Linked DNA regions of Homo sapiens: regions 1, 2, 4, 5 and 6 are each linked to region 3. Evidence: promoter capture Hi-C in human tissues and cell types (Jung and others, 2019). All regions are on one chromosome and are shown on one strand. Each heading gives the region's core, a stretch centred on a gene start or on the middle of the fragment in contact. The rest is flanking DNA. Distances are from core to core; before and after follow the strand shown. Region 1 holds the start of ZNF721 (zinc finger protein 721). Region 2 overlaps LOC124900163 (chloride intracellular channel protein 6-like). Region 3 holds the start of UVSSA (UV stimulated scaffold protein A). Region 4 holds the start of PCGF3 (polycomb group ring finger 3). Region 5 overlaps NSD2 (nuclear receptor binding SET domain protein 2). Region 6 holds the start of NELFA (negative elongation factor complex member A).

What was found. Contacts are between HindIII fragments. The study calls those that stand out against the background at their distance.
Region 1: the fragment with the promoter of ZNF721 here is called in contact with the fragment with the promoter of UVSSA in region 3 in 1 of the 25 tissues and cell types used here (lymphoblastoid cells).
Region 2: a contact is called between a fragment that was not itself captured here and the fragment with the promoter of UVSSA in region 3, in 1 of the 25 tissues and cell types used here (IMR-90 fibroblasts).
Region 4: the fragment with the promoter of PCGF3 here is called in contact with the fragment with the promoter of UVSSA in region 3 in 1 of the 25 tissues and cell types used here (lymphoblastoid cells).
Region 5: a fragment that was not itself captured here is called in contact with the fragment with the promoter of UVSSA in region 3 in 1 of the 25 tissues and cell types used here (bladder).
Region 6: a contact is called between a fragment that was not itself captured here and the fragment with the promoter of UVSSA in region 3, in 1 of the 25 tissues and cell types used here (lymphoblastoid cells).

What each region holds. Positions count from the first base shown.
Region 1 is chr4:497,806-502,338 of GRCh38, reverse strand. It overlaps ZNF721 (zinc finger protein 721), which reads left to right and starts at 3,183. Exons shown (of 3, transcript NM_133474.4): 1 at 3,183-3,283. It overlaps PIGG (phosphatidylinositol glycan anchor biosynthesis class G (EMM blood group)), which reads right to left and starts at 3,129. Exons shown (of 13, transcript NM_001127178.3): 1 at 2,850-3,129; 2 at 1,738-1,943. The coding sequence starts at 3,003. RefSeq lists enhancers at 2,168-3,031, 2,989-3,468, 3,032-3,897. The HindIII fragment of the contact is 23,753 bases long and covers 1-4,533 here.
Region 2 is chr4:770,186-774,640 of GRCh38, reverse strand. The region is part of intron 1 of LOC124900163 (chloride intracellular channel protein 6-like); the gene reads left to right. All of the region lies in intron 1 of PCGF3-AS1 (PCGF3 antisense RNA 1), which reads left to right. Among named protein-coding and RNA genes, the nearest start is that of PCGF3-AS1, 9.4 kb to the left of the region's middle. The HindIII fragment of the contact is 4,145 bases long and covers 442-4,455 here.
Region 3 is chr4:1,344,234-1,348,980 of GRCh38, reverse strand. UVSSA (UV stimulated scaffold protein A) reads right to left here and starts at 1,773. Exons shown (of 14, transcript NM_020894.4): 1 at 1,221-1,773; 2 at 792-891. The coding sequence starts at 889. RefSeq lists enhancers at 1,085-1,164, 3,010-3,532, 3,533-4,056 and silencers at 1,395-1,834, 2,075-2,404, 2,625-2,714. The HindIII fragment of the contact is 13,201 bases long and covers 1-4,747 here.
Region 4 is chr4:704,275-708,892 of GRCh38, reverse strand. PCGF3 (polycomb group ring finger 3) reads right to left here and starts at 3,061. Exons shown (of 11, transcript NM_006315.7): 1 at 2,923-3,061. RefSeq lists enhancers at 1,303-2,287, 2,288-3,273, 4,314-4,618 and a silencer at 2,639-3,338. The HindIII fragment of the contact is 34,476 bases long and covers 1-4,618 here.
Region 5 is chr4:1,917,283-1,921,789 of GRCh38, reverse strand. It overlaps NSD2 (nuclear receptor binding SET domain protein 2), which reads right to left. Exons shown (of 22, transcript NM_001042424.3): 5 at 3,167-3,649. Among named protein-coding and RNA genes, the nearest start is that of NSD2, 48 kb to the right of the region's middle. The HindIII fragment of the contact is 3,023 bases long and covers 1,577-4,507 here.
Region 6 is chr4:2,006,293-2,010,776 of GRCh38, reverse strand. NELFA (negative elongation factor complex member A) reads left to right here and starts at 1,803. Exons shown (of 11, transcript NM_005663.5): 1 at 1,803-2,027. The coding sequence starts at 1,818. LOC124900839 reads left to right here. Exons shown (of 4, transcript XM_047416543.1): 4 at 604-1,771. The coding sequence starts at 1,016. The coding sequence ends at 1,771. RefSeq lists a silencer at 1,053-1,432 and enhancers at 1,493-2,012, 1,620-2,120. The HindIII fragment of the contact is 4,627 bases long and covers 1-3,792 here.

The DNA of each region.
Region 1 (4,533 bases), core at 1,934-4,433, 850 kb after region 3:
TCTAGCTCCTCCCTGATGGGGAAATAAGGAGCAAGAATCCTCAAAGGACTGAAAATGAAACAAAACACTAGCTCTGGGGTGAGGCTCCCCAGCAAAGGTGAAATAAAACCAATAAGCTGGAGACAGAGGCCCCAAGAACCACAGTGCCAACGGACTGGTCTGAATAGAACCTAGAACCTGCACAATCACTTATACATTTTCTCAAATCTGCCTGTTAAATCTTAAAAGAAAAGGAGAAAAGGGTTCCTTCCACACTTCTGATAGAGCAGATAAAGAAACCGGTGTTCCTGAAAATCAGGGGCTGGATGTCTTTCTTCCAGATTCCCACAGCTAGTTTCAGCAGGACGGCAAAAACTCTGAGTGCTGTGTTCAAAGGTGCCGGGCATGCCCCTCTCCCCTTCATTCTCTCTCACCTCCCTCTCCATTCCTTCCAGAGCAGTTGTCACTGTCTGAAACCATCTTCATTGATTCATATTTTACCGATTTTCTATCCCTCCAATTAGAAAGTAAGCTCCATGAGGACAATGCTGTCTTGTTCTTCACTGCCTCCCTCCTGTCTGGAACAGTGTGGCACACAGTAGATGCTCAATAAATATTGCTGAAGGAAGTCACATCACATTGAAATGCGGCAGAGAGAGTAAGAAATTCAAGGAAAAAGTCAGTGAGTGATATGGCACTGTGCTTCCTTCAGTCTCAGACTGCTTTCATCCAGTGAACATCTGCCAAGCATCTGCAAATGGGGCTGCCCCCAAGCCTTAAATCAATAAGTAGCTCCTTCTCACCAAATAATGTTTCACATGATCAACAACACAGCTAAGGCTCCGTCAGAGACTTTATGCCACGCTCACATGCGATACACTCACACACTTCAACCCCTCTGCTCCTTTCTGTCCCCACCTTTATTCATCCTTCCAGTCTCAGTTTAAATGCAATTTCCTCAGCCAGGCTTTCTCACCCACTAATCATCACATCCTGTTCTTTCTCATCATGCATTAACCACACTTTACAACTGCATGTTTTCATATGCTCCTTTGTTGAGTGGCTGTATATCTAAAGACTAAAAGCTACATGAAGGCAGAGATACTATTTTTTCCCCAATTGCATACCCATTGAAGTATCACCACATAGTCGTTGCTCAAAAGTTTTGAGCCAATCAATAAAGGCTTACTTTTTTCTTTACCCACGGTTCTTGGGAAATGCACTATGTACTTCAAAGCTGCTGTCAGTAGGCTGGACACCTGAAGGATATGGTGGAAACAGTGGTAATTGTTGAGGCCGGAACATACTGATTTGATCATTATGTATACTGGTGGATAATTTTGGAGAAGTCACATTTAACTTATCTGAGTTTGCTTTCCTATCTATAAAGTCTAGAGACTGAACTAGATTAACTCTAAAGGCTCCTTCTAAGATTGTAAATGACCCAGTGACGATTAAAGAAGAAAGCAGGTCACCAAGAATGGCATATCTTGGGGTAGGTTAGCCTGGATGATCTTGCTCTAAATCTTTTATATTTGCCATGAAGCATGAGCTTTGGCTACTTGACATGGGGCACAAATGATGGGTCTCAGTTCCATCCCGTGTGAGGCTCCTTCAACATTCTATTGCCCCAGCCAACTGACAGCACAAAATTTCCACTTTCTTAAAATTGCAACTCCAAGCGAAAGACTACAGAGACCCCCTCTAAATCTTCAAAACAGCCAAACCATGATTCATAAAACATTAAGGCAAACTTACCTTGATTCGAGGCATAGTAACTGTAGGTGGCTTTGCTTCAGCCACAAAACTGTGAGATGCTCCTTTTTCCACAAGGTAAGTTGTGTAGGGCATAAATTTCACACCCTTTGACCCAAACACAAAATCATCTCTCAAGGCATCTATCAGAACAATAACAACTTTACTGAAGAGAGGTGGTGGCAGCGTGGTCCAGTTAGAACTGGCTCCTAAGTGTTTGAAAGAAAAAAAAGGAAATTGAACTCTAAACTTTCCTTAGCATCAAGCACCTTCACAATCTAGCTTCTACCTACTTCTCCAGCACATACCCTGCGATATCTACATAACCCAACCCAAAAGGAGGCGACTTGTACTTGGTAGGTAGTGCTGGGGGGAAAGGACGGGGGTTAACAGGAGTAATCTTAGGGACCCACAGTAGCAAGCAGTGAATTATCCTCAGTATGGTGAAGAGTACTGGGGTAGGAGAATCCCTACGTAAGGGTCCTGGAATGGGACATTTAGGGAGCTTGACCTAAAACGCAGAGCTGCAGCTACGGGATGGCTGGGCGTTTACATACTGCGTTTACATGGTCAGCGGCTGGCGATGTGTGCAAGTGGTCCAGAACCAGGGCGCCTTTACTTGCTGTATATGGCTGGGTAGGTGAAGCCTAGGAAGAGGCCTAACGCAGAGAGGCCTTAGCCCCTAGGCAGGGAAAACATCTTGGAGGAATATAAGAGACCAAAACGCGAGGGGATCGGCAGGGGTCTTATCTGTTGTGTGCTAGGGGGCAAAAAGGGCGCCTATAACGGGGAGTGACCCAAAGGCTGCTCAGGAAAGGGGCGGGAGCTCTGGACGAGTAGAAGTGGAGAGGCTGGATCCCAGGTATGGACACAGCTTACTTTGTGGTGATCAGGAAGGAAGGTCGAAGTGGGGCCAGTAGAGGTGGTTGCCACAAAGTTGTAAGAATACAGAAAAGAGACGCTGGAGCGGTTAAAAAAAATTTCTGAGGTGGGGACCATAATGGAAGAGACCACCGGGGAGCGCCGAGAAGAAATCCGAGCAGCGAGGCTCAGAAAAAAGGTCTTCTAGGGGATGTGGGGTCAGGGGAGCGGAGACGCCGGGGAGGGGTCCGTACCAGCCGAGGGTTCGGGCGCTGGGGGCTCCGCTCCGTGTTCCGCTCTGGCAGAGGAACGAACGGGAGCCGGGAAGAATCCCCGAAGGAAGACCGCGATCCCTAGCACCTCGATCGCTACGCAACAGGTAGCGAAAGTCCCGGAGCCCAGCCGCATCGTGGACACGCTAGGCTGGATGCGGAACCGACCCCACCTGGAGCCTCGCCCTGCTGCAGCCGCGCTTCCGGCTCCAGGTAGCCGCCTCTAAGCAATAACGCCAGGCCTTATCGTCGCAGCGACAGTGGCGTCACGTCCGCCGGCGCGCCACAGCAGCGCGTCACTTCCGCCAGCCCGCCACAGCGGGGCGTCACCTCGGACATACGAACAGCGGGCGGTGTTCCCGGCTCCGTGGGGCCGTCTTCCCGGCGAGTCCGCGACGGTCGCCGCCCACGGCGAGGTACGAGGTTTTAAAAAGTTTTTAATTTGGAAGGCAGGGTGCAGTGGCTCACGCCTTTAATCCCAGTACTTTGGGAGGCCGAGGCGGGCGGATCACGAGGTCAGGAGATCGAGACTATCCTGGCCAACATGGTGAAACCCCGTCTCAACTAAAAATACAAAAAATTAGCGGGGCGTGATGGCGGGTGCCTGTCGTCCCAGCTACTCGGGAGGCCGAGGCAGGAGAATCGCTTGAACCTGGGAGGCGGAGGTTGCAGTGAGCCGAGATCGCGCCACTGCACTTCTGCCTGGCAACAGAGCGAGACTGCGTCTCAAAAAAAAAAAAAAAAAGAAAATTCAACCCAATACCTCAGACAACTGGTAAATATCTTAATGATTAACTTCGTTTTAAAGATGCCACATGAGTGAGATCATGAGGTATTTGTCTTTCTGTGTCTTATTTTGCTTACATGATATCCTCAGGTTTATCCGTGTTGTGGCAAATGATAGGGTTTCATTCTTTTATTAGAGCTGAATAGTACTCCATTGTGTATATATACCACATTTTCTTTTTTCTGAAAGGAAAATCTTGGGGCCCCAAAATTACTAAACTAAGGGAAAAGACAAGCTCGGAACTGCTCAGGACAAACCTGCCTCCCATTCTATTCAAAGTCATTCCTCTGCTCACTGAGATAAATGCATATTGATAGCCTCCTTTGGAGAGGCTTATCAGAAACCCAGAAACTGCAACCATTTGTCTGTCACCTACCTGTGACCTGGAAGCCCCCTCCCTGTTCCAAGTTGCCCCCGCCTTTCTGGACAGAACCAATGTCCTTCTTTTTTTTTTTTTTTTTTTTTTTTTCTTTTTCTTTTCAGATGAAATCTCACTCTGTCGCCCAGGCTGGAATGCAGTGGCGTGATCTCAGATCACTGCAACCTCTGCCTCCCGGGTTCAAGCAATTCTCCTGCCTCAGCCTCCTGAGTAGCTGGGATTACAGGTGCGTGCCACCACGCACGGCTAATTTTTGTATTTTTAGTTGAGACGGGGTTTCACCATGTTGGTCAGGCTGTTCTTGAACTCCTGACCTCGTGATCCGCCCGCCTCGGCCTCCCAGAGTGCTGGGATTTACAGGCATGAGCCACCGCGCCCGGCCTGTTTTTTTTTTGTTGGTTTGTTTTTGAGACGGAGTCTCGCTCTGTCGCCCAGCCTGGAGTGCAGTGGCACCATCTCCGCTCACTGCAAGCTCCGCCTCCCGGGTTCACGCCATTTTC
Region 2 (4,455 bases), core at 1,265-3,764, 580 kb after region 3:
TCGCGTCTGGAGTTATTCATTCTTCCCACTGCGTCTGTGGTCTCGATGGCTCAGGAGTGAAGCTGCAGACCTTCACGATGAGTGTTACAGCTTTTAAGGCGGCGCGTCTGGAGTTGTTCATTCTTCCCACTGGGTTCGTGGTCTCGATGGCTTCAGGAGTGAAGCTGCAGACCTTTGCGGTGTTACAGCTCATAAAGGCAGTGTGGACCCAAAGAGTGAGCAGCAGCAAGATTTATTGCAAAGAGCAAAAGAACAAAGCTTCCACAGTGTGGAAGGGGACAGGACCAGGTTGCCACTGCTGGCTCGGGCAGCCTGCTTTTATTCTCTTATCTGGCCCCACCCACATCCTGCTGATTGGTCCATTTTACAGAGAGCTGATTGGTCCATTTTACAGAGAGCTGATTGGTCCGTTTTTGACAGGGTGCTGATTGGTGCTTTTACAATTCCTGAGCTAGACACAAAAGATCTCTACGTCCCCACCAGGGTAGCTAGATACAGAGTGTCGATTGGTGCATTCACAAACCCTGAGCTAGACACAGCGTGCTGATTGGTGTGTTTACAAACCTTGAGCTAGATACAGAGTGCCGATTGGTGTATTTACAATCCCTTAGCTAGACATAAAGCTTCTCCCAAGTCCCCACCAGACTCAGGAGCCCAGCTGGCTTCACCCAGTGGATCCTGCGCTGGGGCTGCAGGTGGAGCTGCCTGCCAGTCTTGTGCTGTGCGCCTGCACTCCTCAGCCCTTGGGTGGTCGATGGGACTGGGTGCCGTGGAGCACGGGGCAGTGCTCGTCGGGGAGGCTGGGGCCACATAGGAGCCCATGGAAGGGGTGGGAGGCTCAGGCGTGGTGGGCTGCAGGTCCCGAGCCCTGCCCTGCCCTGCAGGGAGGCAGCTAAGGCCCAGCGAGAAATTGAGCACAGCAGCTGCTGGCCCAGGTGCTAAGCCCCTCACTGCCCGGGGCCAGCAGAGCCGGTCGGCTGGCCGCTCTGAGTGCAGGGCCTGCCGAGCCCACGCCCACCCGGAACTCTTGCTGGCCTGCAAGCCTGCCCACATCCCTGGTTCCCACCCGCGTCTGTCTCTCCATCCACACCTCCCTGCAAGCTGAGGGAGCCGGCTCTGGCCTTGGCCAGCCCAGAAAGGGGCTCCCACAGTGCAGCGGCGGGCTGAAGGGCTCCTCAAGGGCAGCCAGAGTGGGTGCCAAGGCCAAGGAGGTGCCGAGAGCAAGCGAGGGCTGAGAGGGCTGCCAGCACACTGTCACCTCTCACTACCAGACCCGAGCAGAGCTGTGGACAACACAGTATGGGAATTAAGCAGGTGAGATGACCAGAGTCCTCACTGGCACTAGAAGATGGCAGCCCAGGAGAAAGCTACCAGCCAGAGCGAGGCCTGCCAGAGATAGCCACATCTCCTCTCAGAGAATGGGGGTGATGAGGCCCTGCAGGCCAATCTGCCCTGTGCTGTGGGGCAGAGGAAGCTGTGGGACTGGACAACTCCAACATTCACAGTTGTGGCACCAGCTGCAGGTGAGAAATGTGAGGAGGGACCCTGCCCCCTCAACCTCTGAGGGGCCCTGGCAGACTGGGGGCTGTCGCCACCTGAGGGTTCCCAGCCTTCCTACAAGGCAGTGTGCATGGTGATGACTGAAGTCTCGGGGTAATCTCCCAGCAAGAGGTCAGGTCCTGGTTGTGCGTCCCAGGGTGTCAGTGAAATTGGCTGCTCCCCTGACCCAGGGCACCTTCATGCGTCTTCACAGCAGGACTACTGTGACCAAGGCCAGACCTTTCATCTTTCAAAAGACTTTGACTAAAAATGCTTTAAAAAAGCAACCTTCGGCTGGACGCGCTGGCTCACGCCTGTAATCCCAGCACTTTGGGAGGCCGAGGCGGGCGGATCACCAGAGGTTGGGAGTTAGAAACCAGCCCAGCCAACGTGGTGAAACCCCGTCTCTACTAAAAACAAAAATTAGCCTGGCGTGGTGGCAGGTGCCTGTAATCCAGTTACTTGGGAGGCTGAGGCAGGAGAATCGCTTGAACCCAGGAGGCAGAGGTTGCAGTGAGCCGAGATCACACCACTGCCCTCCAGTCTGGGTGACACAGTGAGACTCTGTCTACACACACACACACACACACACACACACACACAAAGAAAAAACATAGGAATAAATGTAGTGGTCAAATGGTTGTTTGTCCAACGTCGACAGGAGTCTTATCCCTTGAGCAGGCCACACCTTCCCCAGGAATTGGCGTGGGCAGACACTCTGGGGTGGGCGGGGTGGGCCCAGGGGAGCATCTCCTTCCTCACAATTGGAGCATAAGCCACCAAAAAAAATGAAACAAATGTGCTTTGTGTACTTTCCTTGACTGAGGAGTAATGTGGGTAAGAGAAAGGACTCTTTGCTTATTTATGGATTTAGGACTCTGTGCTGATTTATGTAAGCACAGTTGCATTTCTGTGTAAGCGGAAGACAGATAATTCTTTCTATTAAAGGGGACGTTCAGTGTAGCTACTGCAGAGCACCGTCAGGACACAGGCCTCCCAACCAATGCAGGCTCAGCCCTCCACAGCCCCTCAGGAGGGACTCAGTGCATCTCAAGGGAGTTTTATCCTTAAAAACTAGAAGCCATATGGACATCTACTTTGGGAGGATTTGGTGGGCCTCAGGGGCCTCTAGCAGCAGAAGGCCCTGGCTTCCTGAACGCAGACGGTGCGGGTCTCATCACAGCAAACCCCCTTGTTTTTCTGTTCCTCTGCTGCCTTTCAGGGGACACTGTTTGGCTTTCACCCGGTCACAGGTGTACTAACACACATGACTAACACAGGATTTTTGTCTTATGCACACAGAACTGCATGGGAGAAACAAAACCACCAGCGAGCAGAGAGGCCGAGGCTTGGCTCTGCTGTGAGAGCGTCAAGGTCCCTGCAGCCCTGAGCTGCTGCAGAACCCACAGGAACCAACTTCCAGAGCTTGTTTCTGGGGTCCTGGTGCAGGGACCCCACCCACTGTGCTCAGATGGAGCTTGAAGCTCTCAGACCTCAGGCTCCCGTGGCTGCTATCACCAGGCTTCATGGCCCAGTCCCCAAAGTGGGTGGACCCAATTTTGAGGACTTGTGTTTCCCCTACTCCCTGCAGTTGACGCTGACATCAGTGTCTGCTTGTGGTTTCAGCCAGTATCTTGACATTTCTAAGATGGACAGATGGACTGGCCGAAAATAAGTAAAATACACTTTGAGTCAGTGAAGTCTTTTTTTTTTTTTTTTTTTTTTTTTGAGATGGAGTCTCGCTCTGTCGCCCAGGCTGGAGTGCAGTGGTGCGATCTCGGCTCACTGCAACCTCTGCCTCCCGGGTTCAAGTGATTCTCCTGCCTCAGTCTCCTGAGTAGCTGGGACTACAGGTGCGTGCCATCAGGCCTGGCTAATTTTCGTATTTTTAGTAGACATGGGGTTTCACCATGCTGGCCAGGATGGTCTCGATCTCTTGACCTTGTGATCCACCCGCCTCAGCTTCCAAAGTGCTGGGATTACAGGCATGAACCACTGCACCCCGCCAAGTCCTTTTTTTTTTTTTTTTTTTTTTTTTTTTAAATTGAGATGGAGTCTTGCTCTGTAGCACAGGCTGGAGTACAGTGGCGTGATCTCGGCTCACTGCAACCTCTGCCTCTTGTGTTCCAGCGATTCGCCTGCTTCAGCCTCCTGAGTAGCTGGGACTACAGGCCCCTGCCACCACACCCGGCTAATTTTTATATTTTTTAGTAGAGACGGGATTTCACCATGTTAGCCAGGCTGGTCTCGAACTCCCGACTTCAGATGATCAGCCTGCCTTGGCCTCCTACGGTGCTGGAATTACAGGTGTGAGCCACTATGCCCAGCCTAAGTCAATTAAGTCAAGTCTAAGACTGAACCTATTTTTAAAGTTTACTGCTTTAGGTTGTGAGAATATAATTTTGGCCATTCTCCTTTCCTTCCAATTCTGGTTCTCTTAAGAGTTTCAGAATTGTTGTATTTTACTTAACCTTTAAAAACTGAAATTTTGGCCATAGTGCTTTTTTTGGGGAGGGGCAGCAAATTGTCGTAGGGAGATGGAACATTCATTTGTCAGTTGACACACCTATGGGAATCAGTAAGTTCTTTTTTAGCCGTATTTTCCTTGGCATAACCAGCTCCAAACTGCAGCAACCTCTTTCTGCAAGGAGACAAACTGAGCTTTACAAAGTTTGTGGCCTAAACTCTGGTAGCAAATGCTGGACCAATTTAAATGAGGGTTTGCAAGCAGGGTGACAGTTTACAAATGCCGCCTGAAGCAAATCGAGACATTGGTTAACCTGGGAGTGGGGAGGGCTGGGGTGAGGAAGGGAGCCGTGGGCTGGTGTGTGGACATATGTGCAGGCATGTGGTCTGAGCGTACACATATGTAGCATGCATGTGTGTGTGTGCGGCCAGGCTGCCTGAGTGGTCCAT
Region 3 (4,747 bases), core at 524-3,023:
CACACCGCCTGGCACAACGCACACCGCCCAGCACGCACACTGTTTCAGCTGGGTGCCTCCTGCTGCAGGAAGGAAGGAAGGCCTAGAGCTCGGGACATCTCCCAGCCCCTCCTGAATGCTCCTATTCCCAGCTCCTGACCCCACATAAACCATTGCGAATTCGATTTCCTGGCGCAGGCCACAAAACCTGACCTGAAATTTTCTATCAAAATGTCAACACTCCATCACTGTATAAACAATCTATAAACTGCCATTTTACAAACACAGGATACAGAATAATCAGTGTCCTCGACTTATGCTCCACCCTCCGAGGGGAAGTTTTGCTTCCCCCATGAATCTCTGGCTGCCTGAGGGTGACGGCAGAGATCCCCTCCGGCGTTTTCCTTGGAGGAAGTGAACAGAGGTGGACATACCCTAAAGGCGATGGACCAACTCGCCCATCAGCAAGCTCTATTCTTTCCCTTCGAAAAGTCCAGCAGCAAAGAAAAAGATGCACGTTTCTCTCTGAATCACATTTGTGCACTCAAGAACTCCTACAGGATGTGCTCCAGACCACACAAATGGGAATGAAGAGAAGCACCAACCACAGAGCAGTGGGGTCCCCAACGCCACACGCCCCGACCCCAGAACATGACCACCCGTCAGAGCCGGGTACTGCAGGGCCCCGAGAAAATGTCCTGGGTGTGTCCCTCGGGTGGTTCTCTCCCAGGTGGGGGCAGGAGGGCAGGGCCCTGTGTGTGTCCTGGGCTCAGTGGGCCAGTCAGTTACTGTTACTGAACCCTAAGACATACTTGCAAATTTTCTTCAGTTCCTTCATTTTCTCAGGATTTAGTCGGGGTTCTCCTGAAGTTGTGAGCTCTTCTACCAACTTCGAAAGTTTCTGATCCATATCTAGAAATAAGTAAGGCAGAGATGCTATATCACCATCTGTATTTTATAGCTCTCGGTGTTATTAACGTGTTTACTGGGTTCCACTATAAACCGAAAGCTCCGGGAGGACCCTGAGGCTGGGGTCCATCTGTGGGTGCCTCTCTGGGAAATATGTGTGTCCAGCAAGGCCTTTACGGCGGTGATTGCAGTTTTAAAAGTGAACCTTAAACTCGGGACCTCTACAATCCCGTGTGTGGGACGCTGCATTGAGGGTCGTGCGTTAAAGGAACCAGTGGCGCTGTCCGAATCAGCTTTTCCCCAACGTGACTGTTGCTGTTTCCCTTATTCACTCAGATTCCGCAGGGCAGCCTCCAGCAAGGCTGCAGAGGCCAAGAGGAGCCAAGAAATTCTGAGACCAATGAAAAGTCGCGTCCGGAGAGCAGGGGCGGCCCTAACGGAGGCAGCCTGCCCGGATACCCAGGGCCGAGCACCGCGGCGTGCCTGGTGGGATGAGGCGAGGGCCTGCCGCACCGCCAGGGAAAGGCCGAAGGACCCGGAAGGAAGCGCCAGGCGAGGCCGGGGCGGAGGCTGGGAAGCTGCGCCCTACTCGGGGAAAGAAGGGGCCCGGCAGGGCCACGCGAGGCTTGGACCGCGGGGTCGCTCTCGCACAGCGGCTGCACCGGGCGGGCGCGCCGGCTTCGACGGTGCTCGGGGGGCTGCGGCCTGTCACTCGGCCCAGGGCCCGCCCTCCGGCCCCGCCGCCGGCGCTCTCGGGCACACGGGACACGCCCTGGCCGCAGGTCTCTGCCCGGCGCCCGCAGAGCCCCGGGGACCGAACCGGCGCGACCCCCGCCCGGCAGCGTAACCACAGCCCCACCTACCGCTGACGCGGCCGCTCGCCTCGCCCCGCCCCTTCCGGCGGGGGGACCGCCCCTCTTGTCAGGTGCCCAAGACCTCTACCGCCATTGGCTGGCCCTGGGCCGGACGCATCAGGACCTGGGGTCACCACAGCGACGACTGCACCTACCGCTCGACGCGGCCTTTCTCGCCGTTGCCCCACCCTTTCCGGTCAAGGCCCCGCCCCCTAGCACGTGCCCTGAGCTCGACAGCCAATGGCTCACCCCAGCCCAGGAGGCGCAGGCGCAAAGACGCGGCCGAGGTCTGCGCGGTGACGTAGGCGCGCTCCCGGCGAGGGCGAGGCAGGCTGCCGGGGGTGGGGAGGGGGACGCACGAGAAAAAAGAGGCGGGAGGGCGCAGAAAGTCCTTAAAGGGGCCGCATGTACGGGCGCCGGGGGCGGGGCCGGCCGGGAAACTGAGGCCGAAAGGAAGTTCCGGTCTGGGCCTCAACGCCACGCCCGCCCGCGGGCTCGCAGCCAGGTCCCTTCACCTGCAGAGGGCCGGTGAGGACCGCCCAGACGGGCGGGCGCGGGCCCCCGCCCCCGAGCTCGCCCCGCGCAGGGCGCCCTGAACCCCGCGGCGCCTCCCCGCTCCGGCCTCGGGAAGGGAATCCCTGGGCGGGCTTGGGGGTCTTCGGGGCCCACCTCGGCGCCAGACGCACAGCAGGTACCCCTGGGCCCGGGCTGGCCCTGGGCGGAATGAGAAGCAGAGGCGCCGTCCGTCCTGCCGCCGAAGTCCGCAGCCTCGAACGCAGGGGAGTGCGAGGTCGGCTGCGGACGGACGGACCTGGAGACCGCGCTTGGGAAACCGTGGCTTCGGAGGAGCGTGGTGTGGACCCCACTCGCGGGGCGCCCGGCACAGGCCACGCAGAGCAGACGCCCGACTGGGCTCCCGGGGCTGGGTGCAGGGCGGGGGCCGCCGGCGGCGGGCCGGGGTTTCTTTTTCGGGGGGATGGGCGTGCCCTTGCATTACGGTGGTGGTAGCTCACAACTCTGTTAATCGTGTTTTTACAGGGTGGGTTTCAGGATGTGTGAGTTATATCTCAGTAAAGCAATTATTTTAAAAAGGAAAAGAAGAGGGACTCCCTGCGCCGCCCCTCTCTGCAGCACCAGCTTCTGTCCCTGGGCGTCAGTGGCTCCCAGCTCCTAGCTTGCAGCCAGCCCCGAGCCGCTCCTCCGCCTCACCCCTTCCTCACCCTGCCTCTTGCTTCACTGAGCAAGCTGCAGCCAGACCCTCCCTCAGCGCCCCTTGCCCTGTGCATCCAATCCCCGGCCTGTGGCTTCCTCCAAGGCACCCATCCAGCAGTTTCCCTCTGTCTTCTACAGCGTGGTTTTTTTTGTTGTTACTAGTTCTCATTAGTATAAAAGGGTGCCGTTTCTCCCATACTAACAAAACCCTCTCTTTATCCAACTTTTCTTACCAATTGCTAAGTCCAGTCTCCTTTACACTGCCCCGGGGTGTCCTCTCAGCCCTCAGGCTCAACAGCACAGCCAAGCTGCCCGTCCACTGCCCTCTGTATCCGCTGATGGCCCTGCAGCCTTTTTTTTTTTTTTTTTTTTTTTTTTTTTTGAGACAAAGTCTCGCTTTGTCACCCAGGCTGGAGTGCAGTGGCACGATCGCGGTTCACTGCAGCCTCCGCCTCCCGGGTTCAAACGATTCTCCTGCCTCAGCCTCCCGAGTAGCTGGGATGACAGTCACCCGCCACCACGCCCAGCTCATTTTTGAATTTTTAGTAGAGACGGGGTTTCACCATGTTGGTCAGGCTGGTCTCGAACTCCTGACTTCAGGTGATCCGCCCGCCTCGGCCTCCCAAAGTGCTGGGATTACAGGCGTGAGCCACCGTGCCTGGGCCACCGTGCCTGGGCCTGCCCTGCATCCTTCTGTTCGCTTGGACCAATTATCTGACTCACTTGGGCTTCTCTCTTCCTCTCACTCCATGCCCATTTGGTTTGCAAATCCTGACAGCCCTACCTTCAGAACACATCCAGATCTGAGCACGTCCCACTGCCTCATTGCCACTGCCAATTCCTGGCCACCCCTGCAGCAGGTCACTGCCGTCACCTTGTCTTTCCCTTGCACCCTGGTACCCCTAGACCATCATGCAGCAACCAGAGGGACCTTTGAAAGTCTAAGGTCGGATCACAGGATTCCTCTACACAAAATCCTCCGACGGCTCCCATCCCAGGGCAAGGCAAAACCTGTCGTGGCCTGTGTTTGCTGCCCCCTGCATCCCACCGGTTGACTTCTCCAGCCTGCTCTTGCTGCCACACGGCCTCTGGGGAGCGGATCCCTCTGCCGGGAAGCTTCTGCCAGTATCCACAGAGTTCCTTGCCTCCTTCCAGCCACTGCTCATGTCTCACCCTGAGCAAATACTTCTGCACCCGCTCACCTCCCTGGCTCAACACCCCCCATCCGTTTTCTAAACCTGCCGTGCTTGTTCCCAGGGCACTTCTGGCCCTTGTGTCACACAGACTTACTGTCTTACTAGGTGATTCGCTTTTTTCTCTTCACTCCTAAAACATACAGTCCCTGAAAATAGGGATCTTTGTTTCATGAAGCCAGACAAAAAGCAGGTGCTCAATATTTGTTGAATGCTGGATAAGATTAGAAAGCCAAGATAAATCATGATGAGAGTTAGACGATATTCTTGTTTGTTTTTGTTTGAGACAGAGTCTTGCTCTGTCGCCCAGGCTGGAGTGCAGTGGTGTGATCTCGGCTCACTGCAACCTCTGCCTCCCAGGTTCAAATGATTCTCGTGTCTTGGCCTCCCAAATAGCTGGGATTACAGGCGCCCACCACCACGCCCAGCTAATTTTTGTATTTTTAGTAGAAACAGGGTTTCACCATATTGGCCAGGCTGGTCTCGAACTCCTGGCCTCAAGTGATCTGCCCACCTCAGCCTCCGAAAGTGTTGGGATTACAGGCATGAGCCACTGCACCAAGCCAAGAATTAGAAGATACTTCTAAAAGATATTTTAAA
Region 4 (4,618 bases), core at 1,812-4,311, 640 kb after region 3:
ACTAGAGAGGGAGTGGGAAATAGCCTTGCCTGCTCCAACTTTCCTGACTTGGACCAACTGTCCCCAAAATATGCCCAGGAGTCCACATCCCAGCTCAGACCCCACCCCTCCTCCAAGTCTCCCGGACACTGGAAACGCCTCTACACTGAGGAAGTGGGGCACTCACATGACCTTGAAGATGGGGAGAGGGGCAGGAGGGGTTGAAGGTGCTGGACACGGACCACAGCCAAGGCAAGGACAGGACAGCAGCCCCGGACGAGGGGCTGAGTGGGAGGGTGCAGTGCCAGCCTGAGGTGTGGAGCCTGTGGGCTGGGAGCTCCTGGAACCCTGAGGCCCCTGCCTCATACCTACCCCAGGTATCACCTAGGCGGTTCATGTGCAGGGGCTGTGGGGCTGGCCCAGGGTCTCATGGAAAGGGCCTCGGGTACCAGGATGCCAGATGCCTGGCCTTCACAGCAGGTGCATCCAGCTGAGTGGACTGGGCAGATTCAGGACACTGCTGGATTCCCCCCCGAGGGTCCCAGTACTCCTTACAGTCCAGTCTTGGGGCCTACATGCTCCTCAGTGACTTGTTCAGGAGTCCCAGCCCTCTGAGGACCTGTCTGGAAGTTCCAGCTCTCATCAGGTCCTCTTTGAGAGCCTAGCCTTCTTCCCAGTCCACACCAGTGTCCCGACCCTAAGTGACCCCGTTTGAGGTCCTGGTCATCTAGAAGCCTGTCCATGTCATGAGCCCTTCTCACTGTCCAGTCTCAGGGTGCCGGGCCCTGGGAGAAAACAGGGCTGTCTCAGGGTCCCGGCCCCCAGGTGAAAACAGGGCTGTCCCAGGGTCCCGGCCCCCAGGTGAAAACAGGGCTGTCCCAGGGTCCCGGCCCCCAGGGGAAAACAGGGCTGTCCCAGGGTCCCGACCCCCAGGGGAAAACAGGGCTGTCCCAGGGTCCCGGCCCCCAGGGGAAAACAGGGCTGTCCCAGGGTCCCGACCCCCAGGGGAAAACAGGGCTGTCTCAGGGTCCCGACCCCCAGGTGAAAACAGGGCTGTCCCAGGGTCCCGACCCCCAGGGGAAAACAGGGCTGTCCCAGGGTCCCGGCCCCCAGGGGAAAACAGAGCTGTCCCAGGGTCCCGGCCCCCAGGTGAAAACAGAGCTGTCTCAGGGTCCCGGCCCCCAGGTGAAAACAGAGCTGTCTCAGGGTCCCGGCCCCCAGGGGAAAACAGAGCTGTCCCAGGGTCCCGACCCCCAGGGGAAAACAGGGCTGTCCCAGGGTCCCGACCCCCAGGGGAAAACAGAGCTGTCCCAGAGTCCCGACCCCCAGGGGAAAACAGAGCTGTCCCAGGGTCCCGACCCCCAGGGGAAAACAGGGCTGTCCCAGGGTCCCGGCCCCCGGGTGAAAACAGGCTGTCCCAGGGTCCCGGCCCCCAGGGGAAAACAGGGCTGTCTCAGGGTCCCGGGGGAGACGGGGCAGTCTCAGGGTCCCAGCAGTGCTCACAGGACTCACAAGACTGCTCCAGGGTCAGGTCCTCCTGAATTATGGTCATGGGGTCCTGGCCCTCGTCTGTGACCCACTTTAAGGCAGGACCTTCCTGGGGGATCTATTCTGGGGTCCTGGCATTCTTTGGATTCTGCCTGGTCCCTACGTCTGGCCCTCCTCCGTGATTCTTCCCAGGGTCCTAGCCCCCCCGGGCCCTGCCAGGTGGCCAGGTCCGACCCTCCTTGGTGACCCATCTTGGGGTCCCAGCCCTTCTCGGTGACCTGTCCCAGGGTCAGACCCTCCTGGATGATGTGTCATTGTGTCCTAGCACTCTGGGGGTCCTGTGCAATCCCAGAGCCCAACTCTCTTCAGGTCCTGCCTGGTCTGAAGACCCAGCCCTCCCGGGGTCCTGCCTGGGCTGGGGTCGCGACCTTCCCAGGGTCCTGCCTGGGCTGGGGTCCCTACCCTCCCGCGGTCCTGCCTGGGCTGGGGTCTTTGCCCTCACCTGGGTCCTGCCTGGTCTGGGGTCTTCGCCCTCCCTGGGTCCTGCCTGGGCTGGGGTCGCGACCTTCCCAGGGTCCTGCCTGGTCTGGGGTCCCTGCCCTCCCGCGGTCCTGCCTGGGCTGGGGTCTTCGCCCTCACCTGGGTCCTGCCTGGTCTGGGGTCTTCGCCCTCCCTGGGTCCTGCCTGGGCTGGGGTCGCGACCTTCCCAGGGTCCTGCCTGGTCTGGGGTCCCTGCCCTCCCGCGGTCCTGCCTGGGCTGGGGTCTTCGCCCTCCCTGGGTCCTGCCTGGTCTGGGGTCTTGGCCCTCCCGGGGTCCTGCCTGGTCTGGGGTCCCTGCCCTCCCGCGGTCCTGCCTGGGCTGGGGTCTTCGCCCTCCCTGGGTCCTGCCTGGTCTGGGGTCTTGGCCCTCCCGGGGTCCTGCCTGGTCTGGGGTCTTGGCCCTCCCTGTTCTGGGGTCTTTGCCCTCCCTGGGTCCTGCCTGGGCTGGGGTCTTCGACCTCCCGGAGTCCTGCCTGGGCTGGGGTCTTGCCCTCCCTGCGTCCTGCCTGGACTGGGGTCTTGCCCTCCCTGCGTCCTGCCTGGGCTGCTGTCCCAGCCCTCCCTGGGTCCTGCCTGGGCTGGGGTCTTCGACCTCCCGGAGTCCTGCCTGGGCTGGGGTCTTGCCCTCCCTGCGTCCTGCCTAGGCTGGAGTCCCAGCCCTCCCGGGGTCCTGCCTGGGCTGGGCTCTTGGCCCTCCCGGAGTCCTGCCTGGGCTGGGGTCTTCGACCTCCCGGAGTCCTGACTGGGCTGGGGTGCCGGCCCTCCCGGGCCTGCCAAGGGCTTCCCGGGCCAGGCCGACGGGGACGACGGAGCGCGGGCCCGGGGTTCGGAGCCTTCCGGGCCGGACACGGGCCGAGGCCGCAGCCTGAGGAGCGGGCGCCGAGGGCCCAGGCCAGGCGGGGCGGACTCACTGACCTGCGGTCTCGGGGCTGCGGGCGAGCAAGGCGCACGCGGGGTCCGCGCCGGAGGGGGGAGGGGGCGCCGCTCCCTCTGGGTCCCCCCCAAGAGGAGGAGAAAAAAGCCCGTCCGGAGTTTAAAACAAAGAGGCGGAAATGCCCGAGCCGAGCCGAGCGCCGCGTCGGGGGCGCCGCGCTCGGAGCATGCGCGGTGTGCGTCTGGGCTCCCACCCCGCGGCAAGGGGCGTGGGCGGGGCCAGGCGGTAAGGGGTGGGGATAGGGGCGGGGAGGGGCGTGTTCAGAGGGCGCAGGCGCGTCGGGCCTGGACTCGGCGGAGGGAGCCGCGGGGCGCGAGGGCCAGGGGCGAGGCATAGGGCGGGGCCATGAGGGGCGTGGTCAGGAGAGCGACAGGGCCGCGCTGTGCTGAGGGACCCGACGGGTCCTGGACGATCGTGAGCTGGGGCGCTGGAGCAGCAGAGTCCTCAGGCCCGGGTCCCTCCGGGGGTGCCGTCCAGTACGGGTGCTGCTGTCCTTTGTGGGAGCCGGGACTGAGCGCCCTCCCGGCAGGGTTAAGGGTCGGTGTTAGGGTCAGGGGTCGGGTTAGGGGTCAGAGTCAGGGTTAGGGTTGGGTTTAGGTTTAGGGTCAGGGTTAGGGGTTAGAGTCAGGGTTAGGACTGGGTTTAGGGCTAGGGTCAGCATTAGGGGTTAGGGTTAGGGTTGGGTTTATGGTTAGGGTCAGGATTAGGGGTGGGGTCAGGGTCAGGGGTTAGGGTCTGGTCTAGGGTTAGGGTTGGGTTTAGGGTTAGGGTCAGGGTTAGGGTTAGGGTTGGGTTTTAGGGTTAGGGTCAGGGTTAGGGTTAGAGTCAGGGTTAGGACTGGATTTAGGGTTAGGGTCAGCATTAGGGGTTAGGGTTAGGGTTGGTTTTACGGTTAGGGTCAGGATTAGGGGTAGGGTCAGAGTTAGGGGTTAGGTTTAGGGTTAGGGTTGGGTTTAGGGTTAGGGTCAGGATTAGGGGTGGGGTCAGGGTCAGGGGTTCGGGTCTGGTCATGTTTAGGCTTGTATTTAGGTTATGTTCAGCATCAGGACGGACAGGGCACCCACGTGCGGACTCTCCGACCTGGGTGCCCTCCGCCAGGGTGGAGCAGTACGGGCGGCATTTGCGCCTTCGTGGGACTGGCACTGTCCTGAGAGGGCGGGATCCGAGGACCGAGGGCGCGTGCGGGGGTGAGGCGGACGTGCAGGCACGCGGGGTCCTAGGGTCTCCCGGTTTGCGGGTTCTGGGCTGGCGGCCCAGGACGGGAGGGCAGGTTGGGTCTTGGGTGGGAAGCGAGACCACTGTGGTTCCGGGCGGCGGGGCACCGCGCAGTGTGGAGGCTTGGTGGCGAGAGGGGAGGCCCCGTAGGCCCAGGGGCACTCGCTGCGAGGCTGTGCGGTGCAGGCATGGAGCAGGAGTCGGGAGTCATTAGCTCGTCCCGTCTGGAGAGGTGGTGGCTGAGGGAGTGACCCTGCGACTGTCCCCGTGAAGTCTAGAGTTGGACCCCGGGAGCAGCCACCAGGCAGGGGGCCCCGGGCCCAGGTATGGTGCAGCACGTGGGGAAGCGGCTTGAGTCCGCTGCTGAGAGGGGCCTGAGAAGGGCTGGGGGCCTGCTGAGATCTCCAGCACTGGGTGGACACGTTATCCGGGTGGGAGGAGGACAGACAGCAGACATGTGAA
Region 5 (4,507 bases), core at 1,839-4,338, 570 kb before region 3:
TTTTTTTTGAGACAGAGTCTTGCTGTGTTGCCCAGGCTGGAGTGCATTGGCGTGATTTTGGCTCGCTGCAACCTCCGTCTCCCAGGTTCAACCGATTCTCCTTTCTCAACCTCTCAAGTAGCTGGGATTACAGGCGCTCGCCACCACAGCTGGTAAAATTTTGTATTTTTAGTAGAGACGGGGTTTCACCATGTTGGCCATGCTGGTCTCAAACTCCCAGCTTTCATTGATCCACCTGTCTCAGCCTCCCAAAATGCTAGGATTACAGATATGAGCCATTGTGCCTGGCCCTCGTTCATGATTTTAAAGAGAATGCTTTTTTTTTTTAATTTGAGACGGAGTCTCGCTCTGTCGCCAGGCTGGAGTGCAGTGGCACGATCTTGGCTCACTGCAACCTCCACCTCTTGGGTTCAAGTAATTCTCCTGCCTCAGCCTCCCACATAGCCGGAAGTACAGGCGCACGCCACCATGCCCAGCTTATTTTTTATAATTTTGGTAGAGACGGGGTTTCACCATGTTGGCCAGGCTGGTCTTGAATTCCTGACCTCAAGTGATCTACCCGCCTCAGCCTCCCCAAGTGCTGGGATTACAGGTGTGAGCCACCATGCCTGGCCTAAGGAGAATGCTTCTAAAGTTTCATGTGTAATATCCTTGATGAAAGCTTCTGATACATATCCTTAAACAGATTTAGGAAGTTCCCTTTTATTCCTGGTTTACTAACCTTTTATCAATAAGCAATAATTTTTTTGTTTAAGACAGGGTCTCACTCTGTGGCCCAGACTAGAGTGCAATGGCATGATCATGGTTCACCACAGCCTTAAACTTCTGGACTCGAGCAATCCTCTTGCCTCAACCTCCTGAGTAGTTGAGACTACAGGCACATGCCATCACATCTGGCTAATTAAAAAAAATTTTTTTTTTTTTAGAGACAGGGTTTCATGTTGCCCAGGCTGGTCTCAAACTCATGGGCTCAAGCAATCCTCCTGCCTCACCCTCCCAAAGTGCTGGGATGACAGGTGTGAGCTGCCACACTCGGCCTTTCTTTTCTTTTTATGAGACAGAGTCTCACTCTGTCACCTAAGCTGGAAAGCTGTGGCACAATCACAGCTCACTGCAACCTCAACACTCCTGGGCTCAAGCAATCCTCCCACCTCAACCTCCCAAGGAGAAAAAGCAATGAACTTTAATGCACGTACCAAATATCACATATACCCCATAAATACAGGGTGTTTACTTAATTAAAAAAAGCAATGAATTTTATCAAATGCCTTTTCTCCCTCTATGGAGATGAGCATTACACAGTAAGTCACAATAATAGCTTTCTAACATCAAATCACCCTTGCATTCCTGAGAAAAGCCCTAAGGATTACCCAGGCTGGAGTGCAGCGGCATGATTTCAGCTCACTGTGGCCTCCCGGTTCAAGTGATTCTCCTGCCTCAGCCTCCTGAGTAGCTGGGATTACAAGCGCACACCACCATGCCCAGCTAATTCTTGTATTTTTAGTAGAGACAAGGTTTCACCATGTAGGCCAGACTAGCCTCAAACTCCTAACCTCAGGTGATCTGCCCACCTTAGCCTCCCAATGTGCTGAGATTACAGGCGGGAGCCACCACGCCCAGCCACTCTTGAAGGCATCACTCAAATGCCTTTCTCTGGCAGAATTTCCAGATCCCATATAGGGACAAAAAAATCATGTCCAGTAGATTTATTAGAATACTCACAGTCACCCATTTATGCATCTCTGCCTGAACTACTCATGGCTCCTTATTGTGCCACACTGCCTGCCACAAAATACATGCTGGTTAAAGATTCATGGAAAATTTTTTGAAGACAGACTTTTTTTCCTTTTTTTTTGAGACGGCGTCTCATTCTGTCGCCAGGCTGGAGTGCAGTGGTGTAATCTTGGCTCACTGCAACCTCCGACTCCCTGGTTCAAGCAATTTTCCTGCCTCAGCCTCCTGAGAAGCTGGGATTACAAGCACGCGTCACCATGCCCAGCTAATTTTTTTTTGTATTTTTAGTAGAGACGGGGTTTCATCATGTTGGCCAGGATAGTCTCAAATTCCTGACCTCATGATCCACCCGCCTCAGCTTCCCAAAGTGTTGGGATTACAGGTGTGAGCCACTGTGCCTGGCCAACACTATTGTTTTTGATACCTTTAATCACCACATAGATTTAGACTACTGAATGGAAAATTCCTATGGAAGTAAAATTAAAATGAACACTTAAAAAAAGCCTTTTAAGCATGAGAATATGATCCACTCCAAGTAACATAACCAAAAGTGGGAAGTGGGGAACCCAACTCCTTCAGTTCTTTACAGCCTTTATTATGTACTAACAGACTGTGCATTTTATGCAAACAATTAAGAAAATTATATAAATGTCTTAATCACATTGCTACCCTTTTAAATGTCAGGGAAATAAATCAACACCCTCAGTGCCAGTGGACACAATGAGCTTTACAGATGAGCATATCCTGCACTGGAAGCTTCAGAACAGACTGCTGGAGAAAGTGCTAACCTGGAGTCACACGTTAAGGACATGACCACACGCTTCAAGCAAAGCGCAGCCTGTTGAGACCCACTTCCCTCTGTGCTAGTTTTTTTTTTTTTTTTTTTTTGAGACACAGTCTCGCTCTGCTGTCACCCAGGCTACGGTGCAGTGATGCCATCACGACTCACTGCAAACCCCACCTTCAGGACTCAAGGGATCCTCCTGCCTCCAGGACTCAAGGGATCCTCCTGTCTCAGTCTCCCAAGCAGCTGGGACTACAGGCATGTGCCACCACACCCGGCTAATTTTTGTAGAGATGGGGTTTCACCATGTTGCCCAGGCTGGTCTCAAACTCCTGAGCTGAAGCAATCCTCCCGCCTTGGCCTCCCAAAGTACTGAAATTACAGGCATGAGCCACTGTGCCTGGCCTGTTCTCGGTATCTTCTTATCCACATTAGGAAGGATATTTTAAGACCCCAGAGTGCAAGTCGAGTATCTTTTCCCTCAAGGGTCAGAATGGCTGTTCCCTAATACTTATTTATTAGATCTAAAATCTATGCAAGGCTCATGTTAGAGTCTCCTGATAATGCTGAGAAACAGATGATTCTGCACTGAAGGGATGTTCCTCAAATTCTGAAACTTGCTAGCATGAAACACAACTTAGTACTGACCTCATCCCTGTGTTTTTGACAGAAGACCAAAAACTGGGATGCTGCATCTCCCTTCCTGCTTCGTGGCATGGAGACTGTGGTCTTCTTCCTCCCAGGAGGAGACCCTACTCCTCTTCTGGGGTCAGCCTCTGCCGTCTTTTGAGGAGTACTCTTCCCTATGTCGGGGTGACTCTCCAGGGTCTCTGCAGAGCTACACAGTTTGGCCCTCCGCCTTCTCTTCATGGGAATGCACTCTTCTCTCACAGACTTGGGGTTTTCAGCAGCTTCTTCACTGACTCCTGAGGATTCTGCCATTTCTCCCAAAGACTCTGCAGCAATGCCAGCCTCCTTGGCTACTTGAGGGTTGAGATGAAGCTGGTCCCCCACATAGAGAAAGGTGAACTTGGCTTTCCGCTCCTCCACTGACATGCTTGCAGCTTCTTCTGCTTGAACAATGCCCATTTCCCACTGGGCCCTCAATTTCCCTGAAATTGGTTTCAATAGCTGGGAAAAAAAAAAGAGACACTGTAAGTTTCACTACACAAACATAAAAGTTAACTACTTTTCCTAGGCACATGATTCATGCCTATAATTCCAGCACTTATGGGTGTCAAGGCAGATGGATCACTTGAGGCCAGGAGTTTAAGACCAGCCTGGTCAACATGGCAAAACCCCATCTCTACTAAAATACAAAAGATAAGCCAGGCATGGTAGTGCATGCCTGTGGTCCCAGCTACTAGGGAGGCTGAGACATGAGAATCACTTGAACTGGGAGGCAGCGGATGCAGTAACCCGAGACCACGCCACTGCACTCTAGCCTGGGGTGACAGAGCAAGACCCTGTCTCAAAAAAAAAAAAAAAAAAAAGAATACTTTTACATTTTCACATAATTTTAGAAATAAAAAACTTGGCCAGCGTGGTGGTTCCCACCTGTAATCCCAGCACCTGTGGAGGCTGAGGCAGACACATCACCTGAGGTCAGGAGTCCAAGACCAGTCTGGCCAACCTGGTGAAACCCTGTCTCCACTAAAAATACAAAAATTAGCCAGGCGTGGTGGCAGGCACCTGTAATTCCAGCTACTTGGGAGGCTGAGGCAGGAGAATCGCTTGAACCCGGAGGGGCAGAGGATGCAATGAGCCAAGATCATGCCATTACACTCCAGCCTGGGCGACAAGAGTGAAACTCCATCTCAAAAAAATTTTAAAAAATAATAGAAATAAAAACTTTTAAAAACCAATTTTAGAATTCAGCCCAACATAATACCTTTATTGTTTCTTTAAACCAGAAATCAATTCCTATCACATTACATTAATCCCTCTGTCTGTGTGTGTGTATACACATATATACGTACATATATGTGT
Region 6 (4,484 bases), core at 230-2,729, 660 kb before region 3:
AACTTGAAGTAACTTTCACTCTTCTCATACTAAATTTGATATGTCGTCCACTGTTAAACTATTTCTTACCCTCAGATTATAATTATTAAACTTTTTTTTTTTTTTTTGAGAGGGAGTTTTGCTCTTGTGGCCCAGGCTGGAGTGCAATGGCAAAATCTCGGCTCACCGCAGACTCCGCCTCCCGGGTTCAAGCCATTCTCCTGCCTCAGCCTCCCGAGTAGCTGGGCTTACAGGCAAGCCATGCGCCACCAAGCCCGGCTAGTTTTGTATTTTTAGTAGAGACGAGGTTTCTCCATGCTGGCCAGGCTGGTCTCGAACTCCCGACCTCAGGTGATCCGCCCGCCTTGGCCTCCCAAAGTGCTGGGATTACAGGCGTGAGCCACCGTGACCGGCCTAATCATTAAACTTCTTTCAGCACTAGCCCCACTGATGTCACAACTTCACCCATTAGTCAATAACTTGTCTTTGCTGAATTCGACACTTTTGAATCATTTAAAAAATATTCTCTTAAATTTTATGTGCTATTTGCAATGTAACGGTTGTCGACATGACAGTTTTAAGTTTAATCTTTATCATCAACATTTTCTCTATCACTTTCTTCAGTTTAAGCAATCAACAAAACCACCGCTCCAGCACTGATTTGTAGCATTTGCGGGTTTCCCCCGTGTGACTTCCGCAGGACTGCCAAGTTCAAGCCGCCAGGGCCAGGGCACTGCTAGCAGCTGGGCTGAGCCCTGTTCTCCCGGCGTTCCCACCGCCCAGTGGCAATAGCTGTGAACGGCGGCAGGAGCATGGCAGTGGAACAATAAGGAAAAGATCTTTTAAAAAAAAGATATAATACAGAAGCCAAGCAAGGCGGCCCCGACCTGTAACCCCAGCACTCTGGGAGGCAGAGGCGGGCGGGCGGATCGCTTGAGCCCAGGAGTTTGAGACCAGCCTGGCCAACATAGGAAGGCCTCGTCAAAAAGACAAAAGGGTAAAACGAATTTAATAAAATGAAGTTTAACTTTTACTCATGTTTGTATCTAATGACAAGCTTTTAAAACTGAAAAGTTCACTACTGGCTCCTGCCTGGCGGCTCCAGCCCGACTGGGGGCCGGGGCCTCCCTGCACTGTGGGGTCACGAGTGCCCCTGGACAGCTCCCGAGCGCCCTCCGACCCGCATGCTCAGCGCAGCCCCGTCGGCGGCGCGCCACGGGCAGAGCGGGCTCAGCGGGGGACGGAAGCTCAGCGCTGCGACCGGGATCCCGCAGGCTCGCTCCGCAGGGCCGCGGCTCCTCTCCGTGCAGGTGCTGGGCCCGCGGGGGCGGGGCGTCCACACGGTCCGCGCCGAGACCCAAGCGGGGAAAAAGCGAAGAGCGGACAGCGGGGCAGGTGCCACAGGGAGCCTCCGCCCCACCGCGCGAGCAGCAAGTCTGCGGCGCTTGACACCTGCACTGCGAATGCCAGGCCGCAGCCCGGGCTCCCAAGACGCGAATACGCGCGCCTGCTCGTGACGTCATTTTTTGCGGTCTTCCCGAGAGCCAGCAGAGGGCGCCGCCATGATGTTTTACGGAAGCCGATAGTCCTTGCTCAGCGGCACCCCGTCCTTCCGGCTCTCGGCTTTGCCACAAAGCTTCCCGAAGACGCGGCCGCTACCCGGAGACGCGGTCGCCACCCAGAAGCGCTCTCCCGGGAAGCCCCGCTCGTGGGACCGCGCCACCTGCGCCGCCTCTGCGGCCCGCAGCCCGACGGGCGCCGCCATGTTGGGGTCCTAGCGAGGGACGCGTAGGTGTCTTCATAAGATGCCGGGGCAGCGGCGCGCGCTTTCCCCCAAGATGGCGTCCATGCGGGAGAGCGACACGGGCCTGTGGCTGCACAACAAGCTGGGGGCCACGGACGAGCTGTGGGCGCCGCCCAGCATCGCGTCCCTGCTCACGGCCGCGGTCATCGACAACATCCGTCTCTGCTTCCATGGCCTCTCGTCGGCAGTGAAGCTCAAGTTGCTACTCGGGACGCTGCACCTCCCGCGCCGCACGGTGGACGAGGTAAGGCAGGCGTGGCGCCCCGCGGCCCCCAGATTCCCAACCTTCCCACCTCCGACCCGCACACCCAACTCCGGACCCTCCTCGCTCCCTCCCCCAACCTTCCCATCCCCCTTCAGACTGTTAACCCCCCCGGCCCGCCCTCACGCCCCCTCCTCGCTCCTCCGAATACCTCCCTCCAGTCCTCACCTCCCCCTGGGTCCTCATCCCCCGCCTCGATCCTCATCTCCCACCTCGGTTCTCATCCCCACCGTGGGTCTTCAGGACCCCCCGCCCCTCCTCGCCCCCTGGGAATCCCCCACTAGGGTCCTCACCTCCCTACTTTTCGTCCTCACCCCTACCCAAGTTTTCACCTCCCCTGGGATCCTCAATCTCCTCCCCGCCGGGCCCCGGGTTCTCGCTACGACCCCCAGGTCCTCACTCCCCTCCCTGGGCCCCCGGGTACTCATCCCCACCCGCCCCCGCCTCCCCCGCCTTCGGTCCTCACCACCCTAATCCCCCACCGTGCCGAAGCGACCGACTCTTGGAGCGGGGGTGCGCCGGCCCCAGCGGGGTCTCCCATCGGGGTTTCCCGTCGGGGACGCAGCCCTGGTGACCTGGGCGAGGGCGGGGATCCCGAGAGAAACCCCCGCGTGAGGAAGGGGCGGCCTGGGCTCGGTAGCTCCAGTGTCCGCTGACTGGATTTTCTTGTTCTCACCTCGCAAAGACCCCGGCCGTCCGGAGCGCTCTGTGTCCGTTTTACTCTTTTCTACACGCCGTTTTGCGTCATTCCAATAAGTGGGTGTGTGAGGTTTGTTTTCTTTTTTCCTAAACTTTATATTGTATCGCTTTCCGTGCGAAATAAACCGAGTAGTTTTGCAGACTATTGAAGCCCCATGGTTGTTTAAACGTTCCTGGCTACTGATGTATTATTAGCTATTATAGGTTGTAATTGCTTTTGATTGAGATATGACATGTATGGAAAAGTGCATTTTTGTTCAGTTTAACGAATAATAATAGCATCGCGAGCCACTCCTGTGATCCTTACACAGGTGGAGAAGTAGAACCATGCCTGTTCCTTGGAAGCCTCCCACTGGTAATCACGGCCTTCTTCCTTTCCCCTTCCTCATTTTGGAAAGGTAATCATTTCTGTGCCATCTCCCCGGTGTGAGCAATTATTTATGCACCCCTAAATGGCACAGCTTGGTTGCCGGATTTGGAGTTAGTGTGATGGTATCATAGTGTATTTTGTGTGTGGCGTGCATGTGTCTTTTTGGTCGACGCCGTGACAGTTTCATCCACGTTGCAGCTGACTGCAGTTTAATTTTCACTGCTGCGTGGTATTCCTGTCTGTGAGCACGAGGCACTTTATCCATTCTGCCACAGTGACACGCTTAGCTTTTGTGCTCTTGTAAATCATCCCGTTACTACATTACGGTCATATGTTCAGGTGTTTGGAATCTTGGATTTCTCTAGGGTATAACATCTAGGAGTGGAATTGTGAGGATCATAGGATCATGCCAAATTATTTTTCAGAGTGTTTTGTTTTTGTGTTTGTGTTTTGTTTGAGACAGGGTCTGGCGCTGTCAACCAGGCTGGAGTGCAGTGGCACCATCGTGACTCACTGCAGCCTTGACCTCCTCACCTCAGATCTTCCCATCTCAGCCTCCTGAGTAGCTGGGACTACAGGGTTTCACCATGCTGCCCAGGCTGGTCTTGAACTCCTGACCTCAAGCAATCTGCTTGCCTCAGCCTCCTGAAGGGCTGGGATTACAGGTGTGAGCCATGGCACTCGGCCTGCTGTTTGGTTTTCTGCTTTGAGAATTGTATATTCAAATCTGCTTTTAAATTCTCTTTTTTCCCATTGTTTTGTAAGAGTGTCTTTTTTATTATTTATTATAAATGCTAGATATCAGTCCTTTTTCAGTTACAAATATCTCCCAGTTGTCCTTTGACTTTGACTTAGCTTCCTGGAATCCTTTTTTTTTTTTTTTTTTTTTTTTTTGAGACAGCGTCTCACTCTGTCACCCAGGCTAGAGTCTAGTGGTATAATCATAGCTCACTTTAACCTTGAACTCCTGGGCTTAAGCAGTCCTCCCTCCTAAACCTCTGTAGTAGCTGGGACTGATGCGCTGCCACCACGCCTGGCTAATTTTTGTGCATGTGTATGGAGATGGGGGTCTTACTGTATTGCCCAGGCTGGTCTTGAACTCCTAGCCTCAAGTGATCCTCCTGCCTTGGCCTCCCATAGTGTTGGGATTACAGGTGTGATCTGTGCGCCCAGCCCTTTTCCTGGAATCATGGATGAATAGAAGCTCCTAGTTTTAACATAGATGGTGTATTCATCCGCCCACTATCATTGGTGCCTATTGTGTCTCCCCGAGGGACATGCCCGGAACACTCCCTGGGTTATCTTGGCGTAGCTGTACAGTTTTACCTTTCGCACTTGAATCTTCAGTCTGCGTGGAATTGATGATTGTG